Linked DNA regions of Homo sapiens: all the other regions are linked to region 7. Evidence: promoter capture Hi-C in human tissues and cell types (Jung and others, 2019). All regions are on one chromosome and are shown on one strand. The core of a region is centred on a gene start or on the middle of the fragment in contact, and the rest is flanking DNA. Distances in the headings are between cores, read along the strand shown. Region 1 overlaps BTBD9 (BTB domain containing 9). Region 2 overlaps LOC105375044 (a long non-coding RNA gene). Region 3 overlaps BTBD9 (BTB domain containing 9). Region 4 overlaps BTBD9 (BTB domain containing 9). Region 5 overlaps BTBD9 (BTB domain containing 9). Region 6 overlaps BTBD9 (BTB domain containing 9). Region 7 holds the start of MDGA1 (MAM domain containing glycosylphosphatidylinositol anchor 1).

Evidence for each region. The method cuts DNA at HindIII sites, captures the fragments that hold promoters and counts their contacts. A contact is called where the count stands out against the background at its distance.
Region 1: a fragment that was not itself captured here is called in contact with the fragment with the promoter of MDGA1 in region 7 in 2 of the 25 tissues and cell types used here (dorsolateral prefrontal cortex and lymphoblastoid cells).
Region 2: a fragment that was not itself captured here is called in contact with the fragment with the promoter of MDGA1 in region 7 in 1 of the 25 tissues and cell types used here (dorsolateral prefrontal cortex).
Region 3: a fragment that was not itself captured here is called in contact with the fragment with the promoter of MDGA1 in region 7 in 1 of the 25 tissues and cell types used here (mesenchymal stem cells).
Region 4: a contact is called between a fragment that was not itself captured here and the fragment with the promoter of MDGA1 in region 7, in 3 of the 25 tissues and cell types used here (adrenal gland, bladder and dorsolateral prefrontal cortex).
Region 5: a contact is called between a fragment that was not itself captured here and the fragment with the promoter of MDGA1 in region 7, in 1 of the 25 tissues and cell types used here (lymphoblastoid cells).
Region 6: a fragment that was not itself captured here is called in contact with the fragment with the promoter of MDGA1 in region 7 in 1 of the 25 tissues and cell types used here (lymphoblastoid cells).

What each region holds. Positions count from the first base shown.
Region 1 is chr6:38,624,437-38,628,284 of GRCh38, forward strand. All of the region lies in intron 1 of BTBD9 (BTB domain containing 9), which reads right to left. Among named protein-coding and RNA genes, the nearest start is that of BTBD9, 14 kb to the right of the region's middle. The HindIII fragment of the contact is 6,152 bases long and covers 1-3,848 here.
Region 2 is chr6:38,643,765-38,647,638 of GRCh38, forward strand. The region is part of intron 1 of LOC105375044 (a long non-coding RNA gene); the gene reads left to right. Among named protein-coding and RNA genes, the nearest start is that of BTBD9, 5.8 kb to the left of the region's middle. The HindIII fragment of the contact is 4,411 bases long and covers 1-3,818 here.
Region 3 is chr6:38,440,405-38,444,161 of GRCh38, forward strand. All of the region lies in intron 6 of BTBD9 (BTB domain containing 9), which reads right to left. Among named protein-coding and RNA genes, the nearest start is that of BTBD9-AS1, 39 kb to the right of the region's middle. The HindIII fragment of the contact is 4,862 bases long and covers 1-3,757 here.
Region 4 is chr6:38,411,453-38,415,142 of GRCh38, forward strand. The region is part of intron 6 of BTBD9 (BTB domain containing 9); the gene reads right to left. Among named protein-coding and RNA genes, the nearest start is that of BTBD9-AS1, 68 kb to the right of the region's middle. The HindIII fragment of the contact is 7,702 bases long and covers 1-3,690 here.
Region 5 is chr6:38,599,058-38,603,145 of GRCh38, forward strand. The region is part of intron 1 of BTBD9 (BTB domain containing 9); the gene reads right to left. Among named protein-coding and RNA genes, the nearest start is that of BTBD9, 39 kb to the right of the region's middle. The HindIII fragment of the contact is 4,519 bases long and covers 1-4,088 here.
Region 6 is chr6:38,556,803-38,560,686 of GRCh38, forward strand. All of the region lies in intron 6 of BTBD9 (BTB domain containing 9), which reads right to left. Among named protein-coding and RNA genes, the nearest start is that of BTBD9-AS1, 77 kb to the left of the region's middle. The HindIII fragment of the contact is 5,193 bases long and covers 1-3,884 here.
Region 7 is chr6:37,696,622-37,700,593 of GRCh38, forward strand. MDGA1 (MAM domain containing glycosylphosphatidylinositol anchor 1) reads right to left here and starts at 1,262. Exons shown (of 17, transcript NM_153487.4): 1 at 124-1,262. The coding sequence starts at 190. RefSeq lists an enhancer at 1-615 and silencers at 158-317, 348-637, 818-877, 938-1,067, 1,128-1,197 and 3 more. The HindIII fragment of the contact is 32,962 bases long and covers 1-3,972 here.

The DNA.
Region 1 (3,848 bases), core at 765-3,264, 930 kb after region 7:
TGAAGTCAGAGAGACCACGAACCCACTGGCAGGAACCAACTCTGGACACAGGAGGATTGCTTGAGCCCAAGAGTTTGAGACCCACCTGGGCAAAAGAGTGAGACTCCTATCTTTAAAAAAATTAAATATTGCTTCTCAGCCTTTTGGCTAAAATCAAGCATAGTAAAAAAATAAAAACAAAAATAGAAATACATTATGCAACAGAATGGTACACAAAATGGTACACAAAATCCTACCCCCCATCCAGAAAAAAAAAACACTGTAAGACAGAAACAAAATAAAATAATTTATAATGAAATAATATTTATCTCATAAAATTACATTAGAAGACAAAGATACTCCTATAAATTTTCATCATGTCCTATGAGGGGAGATTCCATGTCTAATAAGAACTGGTTTCAAGAATTAGTGTACCTAGAATACATGGACTCCAATTTAGGAGAATAGTTAATCTTGAAATGTCTAGTATTTGCTAATTTTGTTTCTTTTTGTATCATGTTGTAAGGCAGTTTTCATAGTTACATTAGTATTATATTTTTATTCTAACCTTTTTCCAAAATGGACTTAGGTTTGAAAGCTTCATAATTTCCCTTTTGTCCTTCTCCTCCTCAATTATTAAGTACTCACTGGGTACATGACACTATTTCTTGAAATTAATTCTCACAATTAAGTAGACCTTTAAAGCTTCTAATTCATTTCCCAACTCACATTTTTCAGATGTGAAGAGAAAATCATCATCATCTAGTAGCTCATTATACATGCTATAAAATATTTCACCGTTTCACCCCATCTGTGAAGTTGGCCACAGTAAACATGTTTTGTTGCCTTAGTCAAGATTTACGATAATATAATAATGTAATTTTAAAGGCCATATGCCAAAGTACTTCCTAAATTAATAAAAATACTTAGCATTTAACCTATAACACACTTTAAAATCATCACATAATCTTGCAGGTAGCTACTTGCCCATTTGCCCAGGGCTAGTAACAATTGATGGAGAGCCTGTCACCAAGCCTATTTACTTGATTTATTTTACAGTAGCTTTCTAAGGCCACATACATAATGGGTACTCACTTTGTGATGGGAAAATAAATTATTTGGTCTGGACAACCTGACAGTGTTACTATTAAGTTATTAATTTGCTAAGAGGGAGTAATTCCCTGAATAGCCTTCTTTCCTGCCCAAACAAGAACACAATTAGTAAATATTCACAGATTCCTAGAACATAGAGCTGAAAAGAATTCAAGCATCATAACTATGACTTTTTACAGATGAGAAAACTGAGGGACTTGTTCAAAGTCACAACATTCAAAGGCAGAACCTGAGATAGAATAAGGAGAGATACAGCATCTCAACTTTCTCATTTAGAAAATGGTCGCTGCCCCTAAAGGGTAACTATGAGGATAAAATAAAACACATGAAGGACATAGTACAGTGCTTCACATGTAACAGTCATTTCATACTATCATTTTCCTTCTCACATTTTCTTTCTGACATGTATATTGCACTGACAACAAATTACACTCCATTCAGGAACAGGAGTCACCTGAAGGCTACAGAGGAATCACCTAACCCCAACTCTCATAAGTTAAGTCTATACTCCCAAAAGTTTCAAGGACTTTCAATTTGTTGGACTGAGCCCAAGCCAATGTCCCCAGAGTTGAGAGTATGCAGTTTACAGCCAACTGTTCAACCTTGTGCTCCACACATACTTAAAAAAAATTTTATTATTTAATTTTTGTGGGTACATAGTAGGTATATACATTTATGGGGTACATGAGATGTTTTGATACCAGCGTGCAATGCATAATAATCACATCATGGAAAATGGGGTATCCATTCCCTCAAGCATTTATCCTTTGTGTTACAAACAATCCAATTATACTCTTTTTAGTTATTTTTTAAATGTACGATTAAATTATTATTGGCTATAGTCACCTTGTTCTGTTTTCAAATACTAAGTCTTATTCATTCTTTTTTGCTTGTTTGTTTGTTTGTTTGTACCCATTAACCGTCTCCTACTAGACTACAAGTTTTTTTGTGGGCAGGAACCACAAATGATTCTCCTTTGGACCCAGAGCACCTAATATTACCTAGCAAGAGGTCAACACATGTTTGCATGGATGAAAGAGAAGCTGCCTGGGCATCTCCTTCCCAGCTCCACCTGAATTAGGTCAATTCTTATCATAAAGGAGCCACACCATACTCGAATTCAACTTACATGAATTTAACTATTTATATGGAATAAGTTAGAAATAGCGGGGCCTACTCACCACTCCACTTAGTGACTACATGCTCTTTGCTGCAATCAAGCCTAAAACAAAAGGTGTGAGTGATTTTAGAAGTTTCTCAATCACTGGTAAACAAGTGAGGAATTAAATGAAGGCCCTAAAGAAGCACTGACCACAAAGAGCTAGAGAAATAGTAGAACACAGTCATCCCGCCTTGAGAGAATTAACCTTCCTTAAAAAACTCATTTGGTGATTTCTCCACATCAAAAGAATTTAATTACCACTGAAATAAATGGCACACAATTACTTCAGTAAAGTATACATATTTTAATGTTTACGTAATTAAACTTTCAATCTAGGGGTGACAGACCAGTAAAGAGAGCAAAGAAATCAATGAAAACTATGCAAATGCATACAAGATTATTACCACTTTAAAGCAGCAAATGAACTATCTGAGAGAACTTCACCAACCCACCAATTACACCACGGCAAAGATGGCTTCACAGTGGTGCTTATGATGCAGGTCAGAAAATAAAGGTGGCACTCATGAAATGAGGTGCTGATAAGCCAGATTAGGGGTGTCTTATAAAACTAGTAAAATTAAATTCTCATAATCCAAATTAGCTCATTTTTGGACAAGCTTGTATTAAGAAATCCATGACATGGTGCTCTGTAGGCATTAAGGTACTGATATGGAACAGCCTCCAAGATATAATGAGAGAAAAGCAAGATGCAGTACAATATATATGGGCTTAAGAATAAACATTAGAATATGCCACATATACACAGCATGTTTCTGAATAGATATGCAAGAAACTTTATTATTTTCAATCTCCCCCAGTAGAATGGACACTCCATTAAGGCAGATCTTGGCCTATTTTGTTCACCCCTGCATCCCCAAACACAAGAACAGCACCGGTGTTGGCAATGAACCAATGGTAAGCTGTTTCAAAGAGGTGGAACTGGATGTCTGTGGGGTCAGGATGGGAGGGCGACTTAATTTCCACTGTAAATGCTGTCATATTTTAAAATTTTGTACCATTTTTATAAATTACCTCCTTAAAAAGTGATTTTTTTTTAACAAATGAGTCGCTCAATGAGATGTTACAAAGATTTATTAGGCTGACTTTCATCTCCAGGACTTTAGCAAGGTACTAACTAAAAACTGCAGCATGAGTATTAGCAGGCTTGACAGGAGTGAGACTCATGCTGTTACTAAAAAGGATCAATAATAACTAGAAAATTTTAACTGGTTTAACCACCTCAGAAAACAGTTTCCTACTATTTACTAAAATTGAAGCTCTGCCTATCATATGACTAAGCAATTCTATTCCATATATCCTAAAGTAAGGTGTATTTGTGAGGCATGCGCAAAAAGGGTCATAACTTTTTTATTGATAAGCAGATTATCTATCTGGGAGTGGGTAGGAACAAAGTAGAAGGGACAGAAGACATGGGAGTGACACTTCTCTGAGAATAACTTCAACTTTTGGAACCATGTTAACATTTCACATACTCAAAAAAGGACAATAAATAAAATGAAAAATAGAGAGAGGGGCACCTAACATGAAACATAAACAGAATCAAATGAACCAAACTGTAGTTCAAATGAATAAC
Region 2 (3,874 bases), core at 363-2,862, 950 kb after region 7:
GAGGCCAGGAGTTTGAGACCAGCCTGGGCAATATAGCCAGACACCCATCTCTACAAAAATTTTCTAAAAATTAGCCAGGTGTGGTGGTGCGCACCTGCAGTTCTAACTACTTGGGAGGCTGAGGCAAGAGGATTGGGTGAGCCCAGGAGTTTGAGGTTACAGTGAGCTATTACCAGATTACAGTGAGCTATGACTGTGCCAGTGCACTTCAGCCTGGGCAACAGAGCAAGACCCTAAAAGCTAGATATAAATATATTGTAAGTATAATACAATATACTATAACAGAATCTGTATGAAGTGAAATGAGGGATATATAAAGTGATACAGATAAGGGCGCAGTTAGCTCTATCTAATGGAAGTCAAGAGTGTTGTACTTACCTACACTGTTAAGTAAACACAGTATGCCTCAAAAATGGACACAAATATATTAAGGCATTTCCATGGAGGTAAAAAAAGAACAGGAGAATTGTGCTAAACCAGCGTTGTCACCTAACATTCCTTCTAGGTAGTTTTGTTGTGATCTAAATGAATATTTATATATAACTGTTTCTAAACTAAAATTGGTTAGTTGTTAAAATGGACACAAATAAAAGTTAAATGCAAGAATAATTTATATTTTTCCAGTAGATTCAAGAGGAAATATTTTTTGTCACTAATGCCATGCTTTAATACATTTGCTTGTCTAATCCTCATGTATTATCTTACTTAATTTTGTAAACATTAGCTTATTGTATAGATCACTGACAAAGTATCTGTTTTAGCAGATAGGGACAAAGTTTAAATAATTTGGCCAAGGTCATAGTAGACCAAGATTTGGACCCAGCACAAGCATCCTCTTTCCAGGAAACCTTCCCTCAGGCCCTTAGTTGGTTTAAGTGCCCTCTCTCTGTACTATTAGCATATGCACACACATTCATTTTAGCGTTGACTTTAATAATAAGGATGTTTACCATGTACCAGATACATAGTACTTGCACCTATGTTATCTATGTTTAAGTGTTTTGTAGGCATTAGTTCATTTAAGCCTCATAACTGCCCTTTGAAGTAGGTGATATTATTCACAATATTTTATAAAACAGGAAGCCAAGGCATAGAAAGTTAAGTAATTACTCAAGGTACAATTAATAAGTGATAAAGCTAGGATTCGAATCCATGCTTTTAACCCCCCAGGCTTCATACTATGTACCCTTTCCCTTATACTGAGGAATTCTAGAAGGCATAGTTGACAGGTTGTTGTGTGTGATATCACTCTGTGTTCCTCATATGAACACAAGAGAATTTTCTCTCTGAGCCACAAGTCATGAAATATTTGGCTACCCTTGAGTAACTGATGTGTTTTCTCTTTATAGGCAATGTGAATTATATAACTGCCTGTTTTTCACTTTTCACTTTGCCAAGAAGCTCTGAGTAAATTTGTTGGCTCAGCGTTTGTAAGTGGGTGAATTGGCCTGCATATCTGTATTCTGTTGCTTTGAAATTTTTAAAAATAAATAGTTGAGAGAAAAATAATGTAAATTTTCTTTATTTTCCAAATTGTTGACAATGTACAATGATAATTTTTATAATTAGAAAAATAAACTTTGTTCTTAAAAGAACGTTTGAAGCTTCAAATGATTTCTCATGCTTTGACTCTGTGAATAAGAGCTGGTTTCAGGTTAAGTTGCATGAGTTAAATATAGAATCCAGGTTCATATAAAACCAAGACTTCTGTATGACCTGGAAAGTCCAGATCAATAGAATTGTTCAGACGGATCAAAAAGTATTTTAGGTAGCATAAAATAGTTGTAGCCCTTCTTGTTTTTAACTTATGTTTAAGTAATTTGAAACCACTTTTAGGTTATTTGGACACATGCTCCCTCGCTTTAGAAATCAAAAAACCCATTATCTTCCTATATGCTGATGATATTTTATTATAATAAACTTTATGGCTGATTTTGTTGCTCACCGTTTATCAGAAGGAATGGATCAAGATCACCTGTTCCAAAACTAAAATAATTTTTTAGGGCACATGTCCTCAAATTTAATTGGCTTAGATCCAGTAACTAAATACCACGTTAATTTATTTACTTAAGGGTATGTTTTGCAAGTAATTCTTCCAGGTAGATTTACTGGCCAGCCACTTTGCTAAAAGCCATACATTTCATGGGAGCATTAATTAGATTTTCCTACCGTCAGAGTGAGCAACTGATCATTTCTTCTTTGAAAAATTTCAATCCAAATTTTGATCATTCTCCAACAGAGCATTCTAATGCCTAAATGGCCTAGGCAGGTGGGTAAGTACTCTATACTCAGCCCAGCAGATTGTTGCTATGTGGTATAAGCATCCAAAGTTGCCAGATTTGAAATCTGTTGACCTCTAAATATTGGTAACTAATGGGAATTTTTTTTAAAGAAAAGAAAAACATGACTTGTCTGTGAGTTCGCAGACCTCTTGCTCTATTGGATGGAACTTGATGGTCTTGAACACTTATTTTTTTTATTTTTGAAGTGTTGTTTTTTTAAGGAAAATCCTAGATTGCCTGCAGGGGCTCTCTCTATTCACTACCATATGGAGAGGAATGTTCCTATTTAGGTGAGAATCTTAATAGGGTGACTCACTCTTCACAAAAGGCTGTCAGCCCTCTACCATCTGCTTTTTAGATTACTGAATTCTAAACAGTATGTATCTGCCTTTAGTCAGCCACACAATATTAGCTGGTCCATCAGGACACTGCATACCTGACCATATTGTCCTGAGCACACACACAGAAACTTTCCTCATCCACCACCAAGAGTGTTTTCATGGCTTGTATTTTGAGTATTGTGTCTTCTGCATATGTTAAGCAATTCTGGAAGAGACAACTCCACAGAGCCCACCAGTGCATTGTGTGGGCAAATAGGCAAAGCTTCCCCTCTGCCCTCTGAAGCTGTGCTGAAAATGAACTGACAATATGCAGATTAGGAGAAAAGGGTATGCAAATTTATTAACGTGCATAAGCACAGGGGAATCACAGGAGAATGATTATCCAGTAACACAACGAGGTCCAGATGCTTATATACCCTTAATAAGAGAAGGAGAGATGGGGGAGATGTGGTAATTTTAAGGGACAGTAAGTTATTTTTAGGAGGAATAAATGGCTCCAATGCTCAGGCAATGGTTAGTAAATGATTCTCTTTGGGAATTGAGTGGGAAGGGAAAGTGGATGATAGTTTGGGACAAAGTTTGGGCTCTACATGTGGTGTTTAATTTTCAGTCTCTTCCTCTGATGTGAGGTTTAATCTCTAGTTAATTTCAGGGAGGGAATCAAAGGCAATTGTGTTCCTCTTTGATGGGTCCAATTTATAGGTATATAAGGGAACTAAAGAGAAGAGCCTCATCCTGAGCTTTAGGAGAGATAAGATTGGAGATGGGATGTGGGTGAAGAGGTGTCAGATTTTGAAGCTGCTTCTTTAGTACTTCAAAGTGCCATATATTGGGGTATCATCTTCTAAGCTCCAATAGCTTTTACTATAGGATTGTTACTGTGCACTTGATCACATGAGAATTTTCTTTCAGAGCCAGGTATCATGAAGAGCTTGGCTACTCTTGAATAACTGATGTGTCTTGCTTACAGCAAGTGAATTGCATAGCTGGATATGTGTTCCTTTTCACCTTAGCTGCCATGAAGCTCTGAGTCAAAGTGTGGCTCCATTTTAGTGCCTGAGTAGAAACCTGTGGTCTGTATATCTGCATTCTAATTTGTTTTCTACTGGTACTGAACCTTGTACTTAAGTTTGGGTTTTCTCCTTCTCTGGTTTATCTATAATTTCCTTTTGCGACGGAATCTCACTCTATTGCCTGGGCTGGCTGGAGTGCAATGGCGAATCTCAGCTCACTGCAACCTCCGCCTGCCGG
Region 3 (3,757 bases), core at 1,119-3,618, 740 kb after region 7:
GCTGCTAAGTGAAGCAAGACAAGGACTCGGAAGAGACTACTGGGCTCAGCACTGTGGTAATAATTGGTGACCTTGACAACGGCAGTTTGAGGGTGTAAGATGAGGGAAGGCCTGTTTGGAATAGGTTTCAGAAAGAACACAACCACTTCTGGACAACTTTCTTTTTCAAACATTCTTAGATAAGCTTTTTAAATTCTTCCATCAAGTCCCTTACAATTGTAAAAAGCAAGCAACACTAATGTTAATTAAATGTTTAGTGTATATTATAGTAACATATTACTTTTAGGTATGTCAAATTTATGGCATAATAGACATATTTTAATGTGTTGAATGTCTACTTTATAATGCATTAGGGCCTTCTGTACCACATATACTAATTAAACATTTATGTATATTTTATAAAACTTTTAAAGCACAGATAATGAGCTATAGTAGATATAACACCGGTCAGGGAGCCAGGAGATTTGGGTTTTCTAATACAGCATTGGCCAAATCTAGAATTTTTTTTGATATTGAGTACTAAGTTAGCAAAGTAATTTGCACTTATACTTTTCCTGTAGGAAAACATAATCCATTTTATCATATGCTTCCCAGAAACACCCTGTGGAGAAGTGGAGAAGCTGGGTGACTGCCTATGAAGGCAATAAAGAGAATCACAACCCCAAGGGTAAATTTCATAGAACTCAGAGCCAACACTAAGGTAAAACAGAAACCTTCTAAGGAGCACAGAAACACTGGGTGACACAATTCCAGGCCCAAAGTGTTGTGGGGCTGCTGGCCAAGGTAGCCTGTGTCCCAAAAAGGGCCAATTTAGAGGTCCTGCTTCTAGGTGAAGGGCTAAGAATGTGTTCTCTTGGGTGGTAGTAGATCCTTTGGAGGGACCTAGTCCCTCCCCATTTGTTTGCCAATTCCTACAAATTTGGGGGTGGGGAGGTGGTTGCAGGAGACTTTTGAATACAGAATCCTATATGAGATGCTATAGAGAGTTACAGAGAAGAAACTTATCACCTTATCCTAGGAGATGTTTTTGTTTTAGAGAGGGGGTCCCAGTCTGTCGTCCGGGCTGGACAACGCGAGCCAATCATGGCTCACGGCAGCCTTGAACATCTGAGATGTTCCCACCTCAGCTTCGGGAGTAGCTAGGACTACAGGCACCCGCTACCGTGCCTGGCTAGTTAAAAAAAATTTTTTTTCATAGAAACAGATCTCATTTTGTTGCTCAGGCTGGTCTTACACTCCTGGGCTCAAGTGATCCTCCCACCTTGGCCTCCAAAAGCACTAGTATTAAAGGCATGAGCCACCACACCCAGCCTCTGAGAGATATTAAGAAAGCAATAATAGCTGGCATTTATTGAGCTTTTACTGGGTGCCAGATACTATTCTAAGTGCTTTACATATATTACCTCATTATTCCTGACAACAACCTATGAAGTGGATGTTATCAACAGTCCAATTTTACATATGGCCCAAACAAAAGTTAAAGTCATACAGTTATACCTAAAGGTATACAACTAGAAAGTACAGAGCTGAGAGATAACCCAGTCTGGTTCTACAGCCCCTCTCTGATGCATGAAGCCTTCCTCCCAAAATTCCCGAGATGGTAAAAGTTCCTATTTTAAGGGACCAGGCAAAACTGCGGCAAGAGAGAATAGCTTCCCAGTACTAGATTGCACAGAAATACATATAACAAAATCACAGTGCCTTCATAATGCTGATGTTGGTGAGACAGTTTTTGTTAGGCTCCATTGCTGTTTTGTAGGGGCAACATTTTGTCTGTGAATTCCTATAATAACAGAGTCTGGGCCGGGTGCAGTGGCTCACACCTGTAATCCCAGCACTTTGGGAGGCCGAGGCGGGCAGGTCACGAGGTCAGGAGTTCGACACCAGCCTGGCCAACATAGTGAAACCCCGTCTCTACTAAAAATATAAAAATTAGCTGGGCATGGTGGTGCCTGCCTGTAGTCCCAGCCTACTCGGGAGGCTTGAACCTGGGAGGCGGAGGTTTCAGTGAGCCAAGATCACGCCACTGCATTCCAGCTTGGGCAAGAGAGCGAGACTTCATCTCAAAAAAAAGTCGTACTATATATATATTTAAAATAAAAACAGAAGTACTAAGTACATGGAGAGGAAGAATACACCCAAAGAAGTTAATATGATGACCCCAGAAGCTTCACCCAGTCCACACTGTTTAACAACAGATGTCCCTCCTGTGAAGAAGGAAAGTTGGAGGTCATATAGAACAGACTCATTTGTACTCTTTTTTTTTTTTTTTTTTTTTTTTTGAGATGGAGTTTCGCTTTTGTTGCCCAGGCTGCAGTGCAATGGTGCAATCTCGGCTTACCGCAACCTCTGCCTCCCAGGTTCAAGTGATTCTCCTGCCTCAGCCTCCTGAGTAGCTGGGATTACAGGCATGTGCCACCATACCCAGCTAAATTTGTATTTTTAGTAGATAGGGGTTTTTCCATGTTGGTCAGGCTGGTCTCAAACTCCCAACCTCAGGTGGTCTGCCCGCCTTGGCCTCCCAAAGTGCTGGGATTACATGTGTGAGCCACCGCGCTTGGCCCATTTGTGCTCTTAAAACATAAAAGGATCAAGGATTTTTTAAAAAAAAATTGTAAGAAACTCAAGCTAGACAGAATCATCTTAATTTCTGCTATGTTTGTGAAGCAAGTATTGACTTGGCAGGCAAATGGATTGTGGTGGTATGACTTTGTAACACAATGGACCACATGAACAATTTAACAAACAAAGCTAGAATTCTATACTAACTTTATCAGAGAAGAAAAATTCAGGCTGCTGTGAGGGGAATCAACAGAGACTGAAACCCTGACACTGACAGACAAATGTCCTCTGAAGCCAATATATAACACACTTAAGATTAGTTTAGGCTGGTCTTGCTTCTAGGTGAAGGGGTGAGAATATGTTTTCCCTGGCTCAACTTACCACACCTCAATGCCTACAGATGTGTTATCACCTAACTGTTCACTTGTTTCTGTCATGTGTTTTCATGTTCATTTCACAATGCATGCCCTGCCCCTGTCTCACTTTCCCCTTATTCTGGCATATCAACTCGTATTTCCCAATTTCCCACTATAAAGGGCATACAGTGCTACCACTTCCTCTCTCCTCCAAAATAGCTTCTCCACCATTCTCACTCATTATAGGGATTAGCAAGCAGGCAGCTGCTCAAGCCAGAAATCAGGAAGTTGGCCCTGAACACACTCTCTTTGTCTCTCTCTCTCTTTCTCTCGCTCACTCATTTCCACCTCTTACCCACATGCACACATCCAATTAATCGCCAAGTCCTAAACTGGCTTCCTTCTAAATCTCTCAAATCTATTTACATCTCCTGCCCTTGTTGCTACGACCTTAGCCTCCTAGCTAGCATCTCTTCTCTCATCAAAATTACTAAACAGTCTCCTTACTGGTCTCCCCATCCACTCTGAGCTCCCTCTAATCCACTCCACACCTCTGCCCAGGGGTATGATTCTTCAAAACGGAGCGGTTTTGAAAGATACAAATCTGCTTGTGTCATTCCCCTGCTTAAGTGGTTTCCTGCCTCTACAGGCTGCATCAGTGTGACCTAATCTGCTCTTGCCTTTGGTCACTGTGCTCTCTTCTTAACAGGCTTCTCCCAGTTCTTCACACTGGGTACCTGATCACTAAGTGCTGGACCTTCTTTGTCCATACCTTTTTGCCTTTCCTTATCTACCTCAGCTCTAATAGCAAAGAGCCAGGCTTAACCATCTAGAAGAGG
Region 4 (3,690 bases), core at 45-2,544, 710 kb after region 7:
GCTTTTTAATAAGTATTGTTGGGTTAACCAGATGGCCATACGGAAAAAGATAAAATCGGATACATTCTTTCTCAATGTGCTTTAGTTCCAAAGCAAACAAACAAAAAATCAGATCCATCTTCATACTGTACATGAGGATAAATTCCAAATGAATCAAAGACTTAAATATAAAAAATGAAAAAATATTAAGCATAAAAAAAATGCCAGGTGTAGTGACTCACACCAGTAATCCCAGCACTTTCGGAGGCCAAGGCGGGCAGATTACTTGAGCTGAGGAGTTTGAGACCAGCCTGGGCAACATGGCAATACCCCGTCTCTATAAAAAACATTAAAAGTCAGCCAGACACGGTGGCGTGCACCTGTAATCCAAGCCACTCAGGAGGCTGAAGTGGGAAGATCGATAGAACCCAGGAGGCAGAGGTTACAATGAGCCAAGATTGTGTCATTTGGGCAACAGGGCAAGACTCTGCCTCTGCCTATATATATATATGTGTACACACATACACACACATATACACACACACATACATATATATGTACACACACATATATATAAAATAAAATAATTTTAAAATGGGTCAATTCCTCTATATTCTGAAAGTAGAGAAACATTTCCTATGTGACTCATCATCCAGATGCAAAAAGGAAAAAGACTGATCAATCTGACTACATAAAAAACAAAATTCTACATACTAAAAACAAAAAAAAGCAACACAAAAGTACAAACAAAAAACTGAGAAAAAATATCTGCGACTTCTATCACAGAGAGATTAATATTCCTAATATATAAAGAATTCCTAAAATAAAGAACTGAAGCCTGTGTTGAAAACTGGAAGACAGAACCAAGCGGAGTTCACAGAAAAGATCGGCAAGCATCCCCAAAACACACGAACATATGCTCAACTTCCTTCTCGATAACAGAAATGAAAAGCTCTCACCAACTAGATCTCTCAAAGTTTGAAAAACATACTCTGTTGTTAAGAGTGTAGGGAAACAGGCCCTCTCATACACTGTGGGTAGGAACTGGGGACATTTGAGGGAGCAGCTGAAGTCTTACGACTATGTAACAGTGTACAAAGGAGCCAGCAGCCATTTGGACTACATTAAAAAAAAAAAAAAAGTCTGACCAGGTGCGGTGGCTCACACCTGTAATACCAGCACTTTGGGAGGCTAAGGTAGGCAGATCAAACGAGGTCAGGAGTTTGAGACCAGCCTGGTGAACAGGGTAAAACCCTAACTCTACTAAAAATACAAAAATTAGCCGGATGTGATGGCGTGTGCCTATAATCCAAGCTATTCAGGAGGCTGAGGCTGGAGAATCACCTGAACCCAGGAGGTGGAGGTTGCAGTGAGCCGAGATCAGACCACTGCACTCCAGCCTGGGTGACAAAGCGAGACTCCATCTCAAAACAACAACAACAACAACAACAACAAAACAGTCGGAAATTTTGTAAACTGCCTTAGAAATTCCCAGTCTAGCCCACTGTGTATAGTTGTATATGATGAGTAGTTGCACATGGACTATATAAAGTGGTACTTAACGGAACTGTTCAATGTGTGGCCCTGCTACCAACCGCCTAACCCTTAGGAAATCATTTCTTCCTACCAAACTCTTCTTTTGATTCAAATTAAGCTTAGTCCTTCCATCTCCATCCTTTCCTTCTTTCCTTCCTTCCTTCTTTTTTCTTAACTATGCCCTTAGGGAGGACAATAACATCCCTCTTTTAAAAAGTATTCTTTCCCAAACTTAGACTCCTCTTCAGTAACGTGGCTTAAACTAGGAAAGACAAACTGAAATGTCCACGTGGGTGGCATGCGAGCTGGATGAGGACAGACTGGAGAACATATGCTTATACTCACTGCAGTGAGGCAGCGGGGGCTGTGGATCTGATGTTGAAAAAGTTTCCTATTTTTCAAGAGCAGCTGGTGATTTGGATATTTTTAAGAGAAATTTCCCAATTTTTAAGAGCTGGCATCCAATTTTTATTTCCTTACACTGTATAGGCCAAACAAAAATGCCACTGTTTAGACCTCTAGTTTGCAAGGCCTGTTTTACATCTTTTCTCAGCAGGCTTATTTTTTAACCAATTAATCATCTAGATTGCTCTTCTCTAGACCAGCCAGTTATTCATCACTTTCAAAATACAGAGATCAAAAAGGGACATCATTTTCTAAGAATGTGATGTGACTGGTACATCTCTGTTTTACATGTCATTTTCCTGTACAAACATTCTAGGACTTCATGCTTTTTTTAAAGAGTAGTGTATCCCATCCTATGCTGGAACTTGCTCATGGTCACACAACTACTATTTTTTTTAAACAATATTCTAATTAGAAACCAATTACTTTGATGCCTGGTTCAGCCCTTCTGTCTCACTGACCTACTGTGTAACCTTCAAGTTTCCCAACCATAAAATGAGAATAATAATAATAATCCATAAAATGGTTGTAATAAGGTGTCTATTGATGGGGTTTTCGTGAAGACTGAATGATTTGTTATGTGTAAAGTGTTCTGCACAATGCCTGGCACCTAGATACACTTTCCAGACAAAGTGACAAGTGCTGTTATTGTAGCTATTATGCAGCTATATGCTCATTTAACATAGTCCAGAGTACCCCCAAAAGTTTCACAGAAGTTTAGGTGTTACATTTATTACCTTATCTTTATGTTTGTGGACTATCACTAAAAGAGACTGAACTGACAAAATTCGCCATTTACAAAAACAAAATCATTGCTATTCAGTACCTTGTGCTTGTGAAGGTGCTTATTTTAAGTGGATTGCTTGATAATATGTTGTAATATTCTCCCTGCTATCTGGAATAGGAAGACATCCATAACTACTGGGGTCATCCAGAAGGTATTCTCTCATTCTTATAGCTGTCTTTTGTGTTCCATGGCATCTCATACATAATAGCTAATAGTGGCTCTCCCAATAAATTTTACTCATTCTCTGAATAATGAAGGATGTAAGTCACAAGGCCCTGATGATTTGAATTCATCATTTTTCCCCCAACCATATATTATTTTTTAAAAACAACCAACAGAAAGACCCTTTTCTCCCTCTGGCTACTGCCCTTTCTCCTTTTTTCTTTTTCCTTCACATCAATCTCCACTTTCTTTCTTCCCACTTATTCCTCAGCATGCTGCCTGCCATTGGTCTTCCACCCCCACTACTCCATGGGATCTGTTCAGATATTTTTCAGCCCTGCTGACTGCTATGCACTCTTAATGTAACTGACTACCCCATTCTTCTGTGATATCACTCTTCCTTTTTTTCTTCCTGCCTCTCCTATGCTGTTCATCAGTATCCTTCTCCTTTATGCATGGCCCTCTCCCTTTATGCTGTCCCATAAACAAGGGTGCTATTTAAGAGTTGTGCCCGGCTTTCTCCTTTTACTTTATATACCTGTCCTAGGCAACTCATGTATATCATGATTTTAGCTACTCTCCTAAAACTACTGACACCCAAATTAAGAATTACTAAGCTCCAGACCCATACTTTCAATTGCCTACTAGACACTTCCCCTAAAAGGTTCTACAGGTACTTTAAACCCTAAACATCTAAAATAAAAGTTATCATCTCAATGTTCCCACTCTAAGTTGCTTTTTTCCCCTTTCTAACGTAGCAAATGGCATCATTATCAATATAGACCTAGCTACCTACAAAGGCATACCTTTCGTAGGTAGCA
Region 5 (4,088 bases), core at 838-3,337, 900 kb after region 7:
TTTTCCAAACTTGTTGCTCTGATGATCAGGCTGCCAATGTTTACCAGAACATCATTACATTTTGTCTCATTTCCAGGCACCTTCCTTGCTTTTGTATACAATGCCTTTCTACAAAATTAACTGAAAATCAAAGGGCTAAAATATGATTAACAGCTTTACGTGTAAGAAAGTGGGGGGTTATAGTCTTAGAAAGCTAAAAATGTTTATATTTTTTAATACCGAATGTACTTGCAGGTACTTAAAAAAAAAAGTTGGTCTTGTTCTGTTGCCCAGGCTGTAGTGCAGTGGCGTGATCACCACTCACTGTAACCTCGAACTCCTGGGCTCAAGTGATCCTCCCACCTCAGCCTGCCAAGTAGCTGGGACTACAGGTGTACACCATCATGGCCAGCTAATTGCAGGTACTGCTTTGATAAGTGTAAGTAACTGGCAAGTATGTCAGAGGCTTGGCTAGCATTCAGATGCCCCCGGTGAAGAGGTAGTTGATAGCTCAGAGGTAGCCAGCTACGCCTCTGCTGCATCAGAGACTAGAGAAATTGAGACAGATATGTTATCTCTGCTAGACCTCCACACCTTTTTGAGCTCTCCAGTTGAACCACAATTAAAGGTTGAACAGCTCTTAATCTTTAAACTCCCACATCCAGATCATTATTAGCAAGGTGTGTCAAAAATAGTCTTTCTCTTCTGTGACTGCAATGGAAGATCTTCATGGACCAAGTTCCGAATCTGCCTGCTTTAGTTAACCTACCACCATATGCCCACCCTCAAAAGGGGGAGCAATAGCAGCGATGCAGAAGAACATGGAAAATGAGCTAAGCAAGAAAACACCTACCCAGGTAAGTGAGCAAAATCCTGGTTCTCTACAGTAGGAACATCAGAGAACTAGCAGGATAATCCCTTAACTGCCAAGGTAAATCCTTCTCCCTCAACTGCAGCCTCCATTTGAAAGCCCTAAAAACAGAATAATCTCTAGTCACTTGTGTATGAAAGACCAAATTCAGCTTAAGAGGATCTATTTGAGAGTATGAGCAAGTAATGTGTGACACAGTAGTCTTAATGTGTACACACAACAACTGTGTAATATAGGAGCTGGAAAACTTTCTATAAAGGGTCAGACAGTACATGGTTTAAAGCTTTGCAGGTTATACAATCTACGTCAAATGATTCAGCTCTATGGTAGGAGCCTAAAGGCAGCCACAGGAAATAAGAAAATGAATAAACATGGCTATCTCCAGTAAAACTATTTCTAGAAAAGACCTAGATTAGACTCGCAGGTCATAGTTTGCTAGCCCCTGGCCTACCCCGTGATCAAGGACTGACGTCAGGGACTGACTGTACCCTAGGCAAAGGATCAGACTGGGAGTTTTTTTGTTTGTTTGTTTCTTGCTGGGTTACCCAGTTGATGTTCCTATGATCATTTCCTATGTTGGTCAGGAAATTCAGAAAGCTACTGGTACCTGACTTCAAAACCTCTTCAATACAAACTCTCACATCACTCTCCAATATTTCAATGATCGTGCATGATTCTAAACAAAACGCTCTTCCTGGCTGAAAAAAAATGCAATGTATATACCCAGTAAATATATTTAATATATTTTCTGGTATATTTTCTTAATATTTTATTGAGGTCATGGCTAATACTCATATTACTTACTAAATGACTCTTGATGAACAACGATTGATTTTTGGTTAACCAGCTCAGAAGGGAAATTTATTTCTTAAACTGATATATCATAAACATTAATATTACATATGTATCTACCATAATAAGTTCTCCAGATCTCTACTTCTCAATACATCTAATTTCATTTTGCTAAACTTGCATTTTAATTATGTTTTTCCAAATGGAAACATGAAACTGTTTCGTGTATAGAAAACAGCCACTTAGGATAAAATAAACACAATTTTATTGGCATACATAAATAATTTTAATTAGACTAGTGATTCTCAATGAGCTTGCCCAACATTGGAATCAAATGGGGAGCTTAAAAACAACAAAAAAAAAGATGCTCGAGTCCCACTCATCAGAGACTCTTATTTAATTAGTCTAGAATGGGGCCCAGGCATTGGAATCACCATTCTGAAGTGATTCTACTAAGCAACCTGGAAAAACAGCCACTGATTTAGACTCTATATTGTTGTAGGTTTCCATCCCTTGCTCAGGTGTACAAGTATACAAAAACATCCACAGAAAAAATTTATTTAGGATATAATTTAATTTGAATCTTATTGCAAAGATGTAAAAGATACTAACAAAGTTACCAATGGCACAGCTTTACGCAGAAAATGAGTATTGTTTCACCAATGGGATAGTTTACCTACAAAGTGATAGTTTCAGTCTACCTATGTGTATTTTAAAAAGTATGCTGGCCAGGCACAGTAGCTCATGCCTGTAATCCCAGCACTTTGGGAGGCTAAGATATGCAGATCATTTGACACCAGGAGTTCAGGACCCTGTCTCCACAAAAAAATTTAAAAATTAGCCAGGCATGGTGGCATGAGCCTGTAATCCCAGCTAATTGGGAGGCTGAGTCAGGAGGATCACTTGAGCCCAGGAGTTAAAGGCTGCAGTAAGCTATGAATGTGCCACTGCACTCCATCCTGGGCAACACAGCAAGACCCTGTCTCAAAAAAATAAAAAAGAAAAGAAAGAAAACCAAATTAAAGTTAAATGGATTAGGAAACAAAGAGGCAAAAAAATCAATATTTGCAGATAATGACTGCCCACATGAAAAATCCATGAGAATCAACTGAAAAAAAATTAGAGAAAATAAGAGGGGTTCACTAAAGTAACCACATAAAATAATTATATGAAAATATCTAGCATTCTTCCATGCCAAAAACAACTAGCTAGAAAATATTAGTAAAAAGATCTGCAATTTATAATTGCAAAACACATGTAACATGTAGTAATAAACTCATAGGACATGTAAGGAAATTATAAAACTCCACTGAAAGATTTAAGAAAAATACAAAGACATAAGTTGTTTGGGGATAGAATGATCCAATATTATAAAAAGATCCATATTTTCAACTTACCATGGGTTTATCAGGACGTAACCATATTGTAAGTCTAGGAGCATCATTTATATAAATGTAGCATTTCAATTAAATGGGGGAAAATAAGGATTTTTTTCAATAAAAGGTATTGGCTAGCCATTTGGAAAAAAGCTGAACAGTCACATAAGAGTACAAAATGAAATATATATGGATGTCAGCTTCAGCACTTTCTGTAAAGCAAAAAAACTGGAAAAAACCCTGAAGGCCCATTTAAAGAGAATTGGTTAAATAAATAATGGTATGTCTATACAATGAAATATTATAAATTATTTAAAAAGAATAAAGTTAGATACTAATGAACAAAAAAATCTTAAGTATGTGTATTTACATGCAAAAGACAATCTACAAAACAATAGTATAGTGAAATATCTTGTTTAAAAAAATACACTGAAAAAGCAAGAATATAAGTCAAATTGTTAACCAAGGGTTAAGTCACTAGACTGGGGCTGTTGGAAAATTTTACATAGTGCACTACATACTTTGTAATGTTTACAAATTTTATAATGTTTATTTGTAGTAAAACTATAAACAAATATGTCAGTAAGTTTGGCCACAAAATTACAAAATAAATTGCTTTGTTTGTGAGATAAGTGTTTGGATTTGCCATAAGCAATAGAAATTGATTTAGTGACTAAGACAGAAATGGCAAGCAGAAGGGCTATGTATTATCTCCACAGAGAAAAAGTAATTAACAACTTGAAGGCAAGGACATAAAGTTCATTACATTAAAACTGGCAAGAGAAAAAAAAAGTTCATTACACTAAGACAGGTAAATCAGATACCTGGGTAGCATGGCCTACTAGGACATTCCATCTGATATATCCCAACTAAAGATCTTCACCTAAGAGAGTTTCAGTCTGACTTTTTCTAGACTTAAGGCAGATTTTCCCAGATGCAAAGTGTTCTTCAATTTGCCCCTACTGACTGTCCTGGAGTCTAAACTTGCTGATCCTCACAGCATAGGGCAAGGGTAATGTATTCACTCAAACTGTTGCCTCAAGGTGGGAGGAAGAACAGTAGGAAGGCAG
Region 6 (3,884 bases), core at 805-3,304, 860 kb after region 7:
GGTCAGGAGTTCGAGATCAGCCTGACCAACATGGTGAAAACCCGTCTCTACTAAAAATACAAAAATTAGCCAGATGTAGTGGCGCCTGTAATTCCAGCTACTTGGGAGGCTGAGGCAAGAGAATCGCTAGAACCTGGGAGGTGGTGGTTGCAGTGACCCGAGATCGGGCCATTGCACTCCAGCTTGGGGAACAGAGCGAGACTCCATCTCACCAAAAAAAAAAAAAAAAAAAAAAAAAAAAAAAAAAAAAAAAAGGGCCAGGCACGGTGGCTCACATCCTCACATCTGTAATCCCAGCACTTTGGGAGGCCACGGTGGGCAGATCATGAGATTGGGAGTTTGAGAACAGTCTGGCCAACATGGCAAAACCCCGTCTCTACTAAAAATACAATAATTAGCTGGCAGTGGTGGCAGGCGCCTGCAATCCCAGCTACTCAGGAGGCTGAGGCAGGAGAATCACTTCACCCCGGAGGCAGAGGCTGCAGTGAGCCAAGATCGTGCCATTGCACTCCAGCCTGGGCGACAAGAGCAAGACTCAGTCTCAAAATAAATAAATAAATAAATAATAAAAAGACCTTTAGAGTCAGACAGACCTCAGCTTCAGTCCCAGCGGTTATGTTCTAGCTGTGTGATTATAAGTTCAATATGCTCTCTAAGCCTCAGTTTCCTCATTTGTGAAATACAATAGTTGGACAATAATACTTATTTCCTGGGTAAGACCAAATGAAATACTCAGTGTCTGGAAAATTGTGGGCCTTACCTATGTTATAAACCATATCTTAGCTAATAAATAATTTTCCTCCTTCTTCCAGGCATTATGACAACAATGTAAACCTTCTACCTGTTTATAAAAACAAGGTATTAGGATATCACTATGAGGACTCTGTCAGAATCCCTTGATAACGCCAATATTATAAACAAAGCTTCCCAAAAAAACAGAGGTCCCAGACCAGGCACATATCTTCTAAGCCTTACAAATAAGGGGGGTAAAGTTATTTAGATATGAGAGTAGCTTCTTTCTCAGTGACAATGTATAACACAACCAACTGTGAAGTTGGACATAGCCAAGTTAGAATCCACTTTTCTGATTTTGAGATCTTAGAGAAATTACTTAACCTTTCTGAGGCTGTGTGAAATGAAGATAATAAATAAGGCCTGCCTCCAAGAGTTGTTTAACGAACTCTTGGTGGTTCATGCCTGTAATCCCAGCACTCTGGGAGGTCAAGGCAGGACAATTACTTTAGCCCAGGAGTTTGAGACCAGCCTGAGCAACACAGTAAGACCCTATATCTAGAAAAAATAAAAAATAAAACCAGCCAGGTTTGGTGGTATGTGCCTGCAGTCCTAGCTACTCCAGAGGTTAGAGGGTAACTTGAGACCAAGAGTTCCAGGGTAAAGTGGGGAATGATTTTGCCACTGCATTCCAGCCTGAATGATGCAGTGAGACCCTTTCTTAAAAAAAAAAAAAATCTATCAGGTCTAGGAGCCTTTTGGTGGAGGCTTTAGGGTTTTCCAAGTATAGAATCATACTGTCAATGAAAAGAGATAATTTGACTTCTACTCTTCCTATCTGGATGCCTTTTATTTCCTTCTCCTGCCTGACTACTCTGGCTAGGACCTTCAGTACTATGTTGAATAGGCGTGGTGAGAGTGGACATCCTTTCTTTTAATGTTTTCAAGGAGAATGCTTCCAGCTTTTGCCCATTTAGTATGATGCTGGCTATGAGTCTGTCATAGATGGCTCTTATGATTTTGAGGTATGTTCTTTTGATGCCTAGTTTGAGGTTTTTTATCATGAAGAGATGTTGGATTTTACCAAAAGCTTTCTGTGCATCTATTAAGATGATCGTATGTTTTAAATTCTGTTCACGTGGTAAATCACATTTATTGATGTGCGTATGTTGAACCAACCTTGCATCCCAGGAATAAAGCCTGCTTCATCATGGGGAATTAACTTTTTGATGTGCTGCTGGATTTGGTTTGCTAGAATTTTGTTGAAGATTTTTACATCTATGTTCACCAAGGATATTGGCCTGTAGTTTTCTTTTTTCCCATATCTTTGCCAGGATATCAGGGTGATACTAGCTTCACAGAATGAGGTAGGGAGAAGTCTCTCCTCCTCCATCGTTTGGAATCATTTCAGTAGAATGGGTAGAATGGGAACCACCAGCCCTTTTCTGGATAGCTGGTAGAATTTGGCTGTGAATCCATCTGGTCCAGGGTTTTTTGTTTTTTGGGTCTTTTTTGTTTGTTTTGGTTGCTAAGTTTACTATAACTGATTCCATTTCGAAACTTGATATTGGTTTGTTCAGGGTTTCAATTTCTACCTTATTCAATCTTAGGAAGTTGTCTGTTTCCAAGAATTGTTCCATTTCTTCTCGATTTTCTAGTTTGTGTGCACACAGGTGTTTTCATAATAGTTTCAGAATACAAAATCAATGTACAAAAATCAGTGGCATTTCCATACTCTAATAACATTCAAGTTGAGAGCCAAATCAAGAATGCAATCCCATTTACAATAGTCACACACATACAGGGAAAAAAAAAACTAGGAATATGTCTAAATAAGGAGGTGAAAGATCTCTACAAGGACAACTATAAAACACTGCTGAAAGAAATTAGAGATGACACAAATGAATGGAAAAACATTACATGCTCACGGACTGGAAGAATTACTATCGTGAAAATGGCCATACTGCCCAATGCAATCTACAGACTCAATGCTATTCCTATCAAAGTATCAACATCATTTTTCACAGAATTAGAAAAAACTGTTCTAAAATTCACATGGAACCAAAAAAGAGCCTGAATAGCTAAAGAAAATCCTAAGCAAAAAGAACAAAGCTGGAGGCATCACATTACCTACTTCAAATGACACTATAAGGTTACAGTAATGAAAACAGCACGGTACTAGTACAAAAACAGACATGTAGCTCAATGGAACAAAATTGAGAACCCAGAAATAAAGCCACACACCAACAACCATCTGATCTTCAACAAAGTTGACAAAAACAAGCGAGGGGGAAAGAATTCCCTATTTAATAAACAGTGCTGGGATAACTGGCTGGTCATATGCAGAAAAATGAAACTGGACCTCTCCCCTTCATTATACACAAAAATTAACTCAAGATGGATTAATGACTTAAATGTAAGACTTCAAACTATAAAAATCATAAAAGAAAACATAGGAAATACCATCTATCTATACATCAGCCTTGATAAAGAATTTATGACTAAGTCCTCAAAAGCAATAGCAACAAAAACTGACATGTAGGACCTAATTAAACTAAAGTTTTGCACAGCAAAAGAAACTATCAACAGAATAAACAACCCACAGAATGGGAAAAAATATCTGCAAACTATGCATCTGACAAAGGTCTAATATCTAGAATTTATACGGAACTTAATTCAACAAGCAAAAAACAAATAGCTCCATTAAAAAGTGGGCAAAGGACATGAACAGACACTCCTCAAAAGACCTACAAGTAGCCAAAAAACATATGAAAAAATGTTCAACATCACTAATCATCAGAGAAATGCAAATCAAAACCACAATGCGATACCATCTCACATTAATCATAATAGCTATTACTATTATTTTTGACTTGTCAGAAATCGATAAAATGTTTTATTTGTATATATGCAAAATCAAAATCTTTTTGTACACAAAATATTTGCAAATTAATAAAAACATAACATTACTGCTAAATATAATCCTTTATATAAACATTTTTAAAACTACACAATATTTTGCTTTCCCTTTTTTGAAATTTATTTTTTTTAACTTTTAATTTAGGTTCAGGGATACATGTGCAGGTTTATTTATATAGGCAAATCCGTGTTACAGGGGTTTGATGCACAGATTATTTCACCACCTAGGTACC
Region 7 (3,972 bases), core at 12-2,511:
GCGGGCATCCACTCCAGAGTCCGAGTCGAGGTCTCCACCAAACCCCGGCAGCGCGCACTTTGCGCCTCTTGCAAAGTTTCCGCGCGAGGTTAAGCCAAGGTGGAGCGGGACGCGGGCTCTTACCGTAGACTCCTTGTCCCCGGCAGTGGAAGGGGATCAGCGCCAGAAGTAGAAGGCAGGTCACCTCCATCTTCACGGCCGGTGCTTCATCCCCGCGAGGCGGCGCAGCCCGAGAGGCGGCGGGGGGCGCATTCGCCGGGGCCCCGCGACGCCCCTATGTCCCCCCCTTTCCCTGAGAGGTGAGAGAGAGAGCGGCGACGAAGACCAGGAGACTGAAGAGGCGGAGGTGGCGGCGACCCGTGTTTCTCCTCCGGCGGGGCCGCTGCCCGCGTGGGGACGCAGGGGGCGCTGGCCCAGCCCCGGGTGCCTCGGCGCGCCCGGCACAGCAGCCAGCGCCCCGACCCGAGGAGCCCGGCCGCCGAGCCGCCCCGGGTACCCAGGGCCGTCCGCGCGGGATGCTAGGCGCCGGGGACCTCTCGGCGGCGGAGGCGGCGCTTCGATCCAACAGGCCACGGACGACTGACAAACTTGTCGTTTCCCCGCACTGGGGCCGCCCCTCAGCGGAGCGGAGTCGGGGAGGCCGGGGCTCCGCTCGAGTTAATCAATCTGCTGTTTCCAGTCCTGCGGCCGCTGCCGTGGGCTCAGCGGCCCGACTCCAGGGGGCCGGGCTGAAAGCACTCGCGGCGGCGAAGCAGCCCCGGGCCCGGCCCTCCTGATCCGGGGAGCAGCGCGGGCTGGGTTCGGCCGAGGGACGAGCGCCGCGGGTCCCCGGGTCCGTGAAGTTAGCCGAGCCGCCGATAAACCCGGGGGAAGAATAGCAGCCCGGCGCCCCGCGGGAATCTGGAGAGCAATTCCAGGCAAGAAGGGCCCCAGAAAACGGGGAAAGGAGGAAAGTTTGAGTCTTTTGAAAAATATTCGCGCTCTCGCCCAGGCCGGGGCTGCGGCGCGGGCGCCGCTCGCCGCCTCCGCTCGCCGCGCTCCTCTCCCGCCGTCTGGCCGCGGCCGTAGCCCTCCCGGGCTCCGAGCTCTCGGGAGAGCGGGGCTACGCCGCGCCCCAAGTTGGTCGTCCCCGCCCCCGCCCGGCGGCCTTGGCCTGCGGGGGCCCAGAGCGGGCGGGGCCGGGCCGGGCTCCGGGGCGCGGCGGCCGCTCGGCTCCGGGCCGCGGGAGCGCTCCGCTCGCTCAGCAACTTGGGCTTTGCTGTGCTGCTTTTTCGCCCCTCCGAGCTTTTCATTCCGCGCTCCTCCCGCCTCCCTCCCTCTCTTCCTCCTCCCTCCTCCTCGCGTCTCCTCGTTCGGTCTCTCGCTCTCCCACCCGTTGTCGCTCGCTCTCCTGTTTGATTCCCCTCCAGTTAAAAAAAGGAGCCAATTAAAGGCAGCCCAGCTCGCCTGGCCCAGCCTCTGTCCAATTTCCTCGCCTCCCCCAGGACCAATTAGAGAAAACAAAACAGGGCTGGGGGAAGCTGACTGCCTGCCTTTCTCTTTCTCTTTCTCTTTCTCTTTCTCTCTCTCTCTCTCTCTCTCTCTCTCTCTCTCTCTCTCTCTCTCTCTCTTTCTCTCTCTCTCCTCTCTCTCTCTTCTCTCTCTCCTCTCTCTCTCCCTCTCGCTCTCTCTCCCTTCCTCTCCTCTCCTCTCTTTCCCTTTCTCCTCTCCCTCTCTCTCTCTTCCTCTCTCCGCCCCCTAACATTCCCCCCCAACCCCGCCCAGCAGGAAAATGTCAGAAAGCAGAAATGGATCCATCTATCCCGAGGACAGTGGCGGAGGGACCTGGGTTTCGGCGGGGGCTCTGCAGCCGCGCGCTCGCACACTCGCTGTTCTCCAGCCTTGCACACCCAGACTAGCTGGCCGAGCCGGGTGCACCGTTGCCAGCAGCCCGCGGGGCAAACACGGCCGCTCGCTTCGGAGACCCATGCCCGCAGGGCACTGCACACTTCGTAAATGTTTTGCACTTTGGGGAGGCGGGACTGAAGCGGGGGTCCTAGGGAAAGGCCGGGCGCCTGCGGTTCCTGGGGTCCTGCAGCCGCGCGAGACGGGCCGCGGCTGTGGGTCTGCAAGGCTGTCTGCCCGGCTCGAGAGGCCCCCGCCCCTTTCCAGGCGTCTGGTGCTGGGGCCGGGCCGGAGCAGCTGGCGGAGAGGTCGCGCTGAGAGCTCCTGCCCTTGCCGCGGCCCACAGGTTGCCAACAGGTTTGCTCGCACGACCCCTCCGCCAGAGCTTCCCTAAGTCACCCCACATTTTCCTCGGCTAGCCACTCTTCCCATCTTGCCTCCCCTCGGGACCTCAGGCGCCCCCAAGCGCCCCGGGGGCACACCTCCTTCCGGCTGCCGAACCCGAGCCCCGCTCCAGCGGCGGGAGTCCGGCACTCGGGTCTCAGCCGCCTCGAAGGGGCCCTCGCGGAGCAGGAGTGCGGAGAACGCTCCTCCCAAACGCCCGCGGGGAGGGGCGTAGGCTGGCAAGCGAGGCTGGTGGCCTCCCCCGCGCCTCCGATCCCGCCCCGCGCCCAACCCGGGTCCTGCTAATCTCACCTGCTCCACCTGTCGCCGTTATTTATCTCAGCGTGTGCGCAAGAATTGTTTTAGGTCGGCCCGTGGGAGCGCAGACAATCGCAGCAGCTAACAAGCGGGGAGACTACGAACCCCCCCTCCCTTCGCCCCCTGGAACTGCTCAATATCTTGATGGTGGTTCCACGGCTCTATGCATTTGTCAAAACTCAAAGATCTCCACACTCCAAAAAGGTTAGTCTGCATATAAATTGAAACATAAATTTTTTTAAAATAATAATAATGAACCGTCCCTTCCCCAGGCCCATTTCCTGCTGGGTCTCTCCTCCCTTGACTCTCCAGGGCTTAAGCCCCACCGGAGCGCGCGCTCCTGACTGCTGGAAGAGGAGCGGGAGGTGTCGGGAAGTGCCTGGTGGCATGGGGGGGTTCCACCTTCCTTTCTCAGCCCCCTTTCTGTCCATCTCAGGAAGCCCGAGAACATCCGAAGATTCCTATTCTCTAGCCCACCTCCACTCGTTTGCGCCTCCCTTGTGCCCTCTTCCGTCTTTTCTCTCCTTTCTACCCCGTGGGTCCAAGGCTGATAGGAAGTCCAGACTCAGTGCGGTGCTCCCAGCAGATGCCAGCTGCAGACATGTTCAGTGAATTCACGAATGATGCCCATCATGGCCAGATATCACAGACCTGGGATACCCTCAGGGTAGCCATCCTTTCACTCCCCAGCCCCGGACTGTTACCTCAAAGGCAAAAAATTCATTTTCTGTCCCACAGAGATACACAGCCACCATGCCTCTTCCCGCCTCCCCCATCCAGTCAGAAAAGGAAGTGGTGCCAATTGAGGGAGTGATGAGGGATAGCTTCTTCTATTGTCATCCTCTTCCCATTATTAGAGGGTTCCTGGAAGTCTCTACCCCTTCCAGGAAGCTCTCAGGGAGTGATCACAGCGACTGTGGCTCTTCCTGGCTTTGCCCATTCTGAGCTGAATGTGTACTTCTCCATGTCGTGCGAAACTGCGCTCTGATTTTCCAATTAGCTGTTCCAACACCAAACAGCAGTCAATTGCTCCTCTTTGGCTTTGGGGTGAGTTACTGGGGACAGAGAACTGCACTGACTCAGCTGACATTCTCTTGACTTTGCCCTCTCTAAACTCACACACTAGCCTGGAGGAGAAAGAAGGTTCATGATGGCGGGGTGGGGGGAACAGAGGACCAAGTTAGCCAGGCTGGGATTGAACATTTGCTGTAGCTAATCCACTTGTGAATACTCTGCAGCTAATTGTATGCAGTGTAAATACCTTGACAGCCTGTTTGTGTGTGTCTGTAAATTCAGCTGTCTCCTCCCCCAAGTGTGCCCTGCCTGCTGCCTCAACACAGCCCAGTGTCTGACAATGGGAGGCAACCTCAGAGAAGGGAAAGAGCC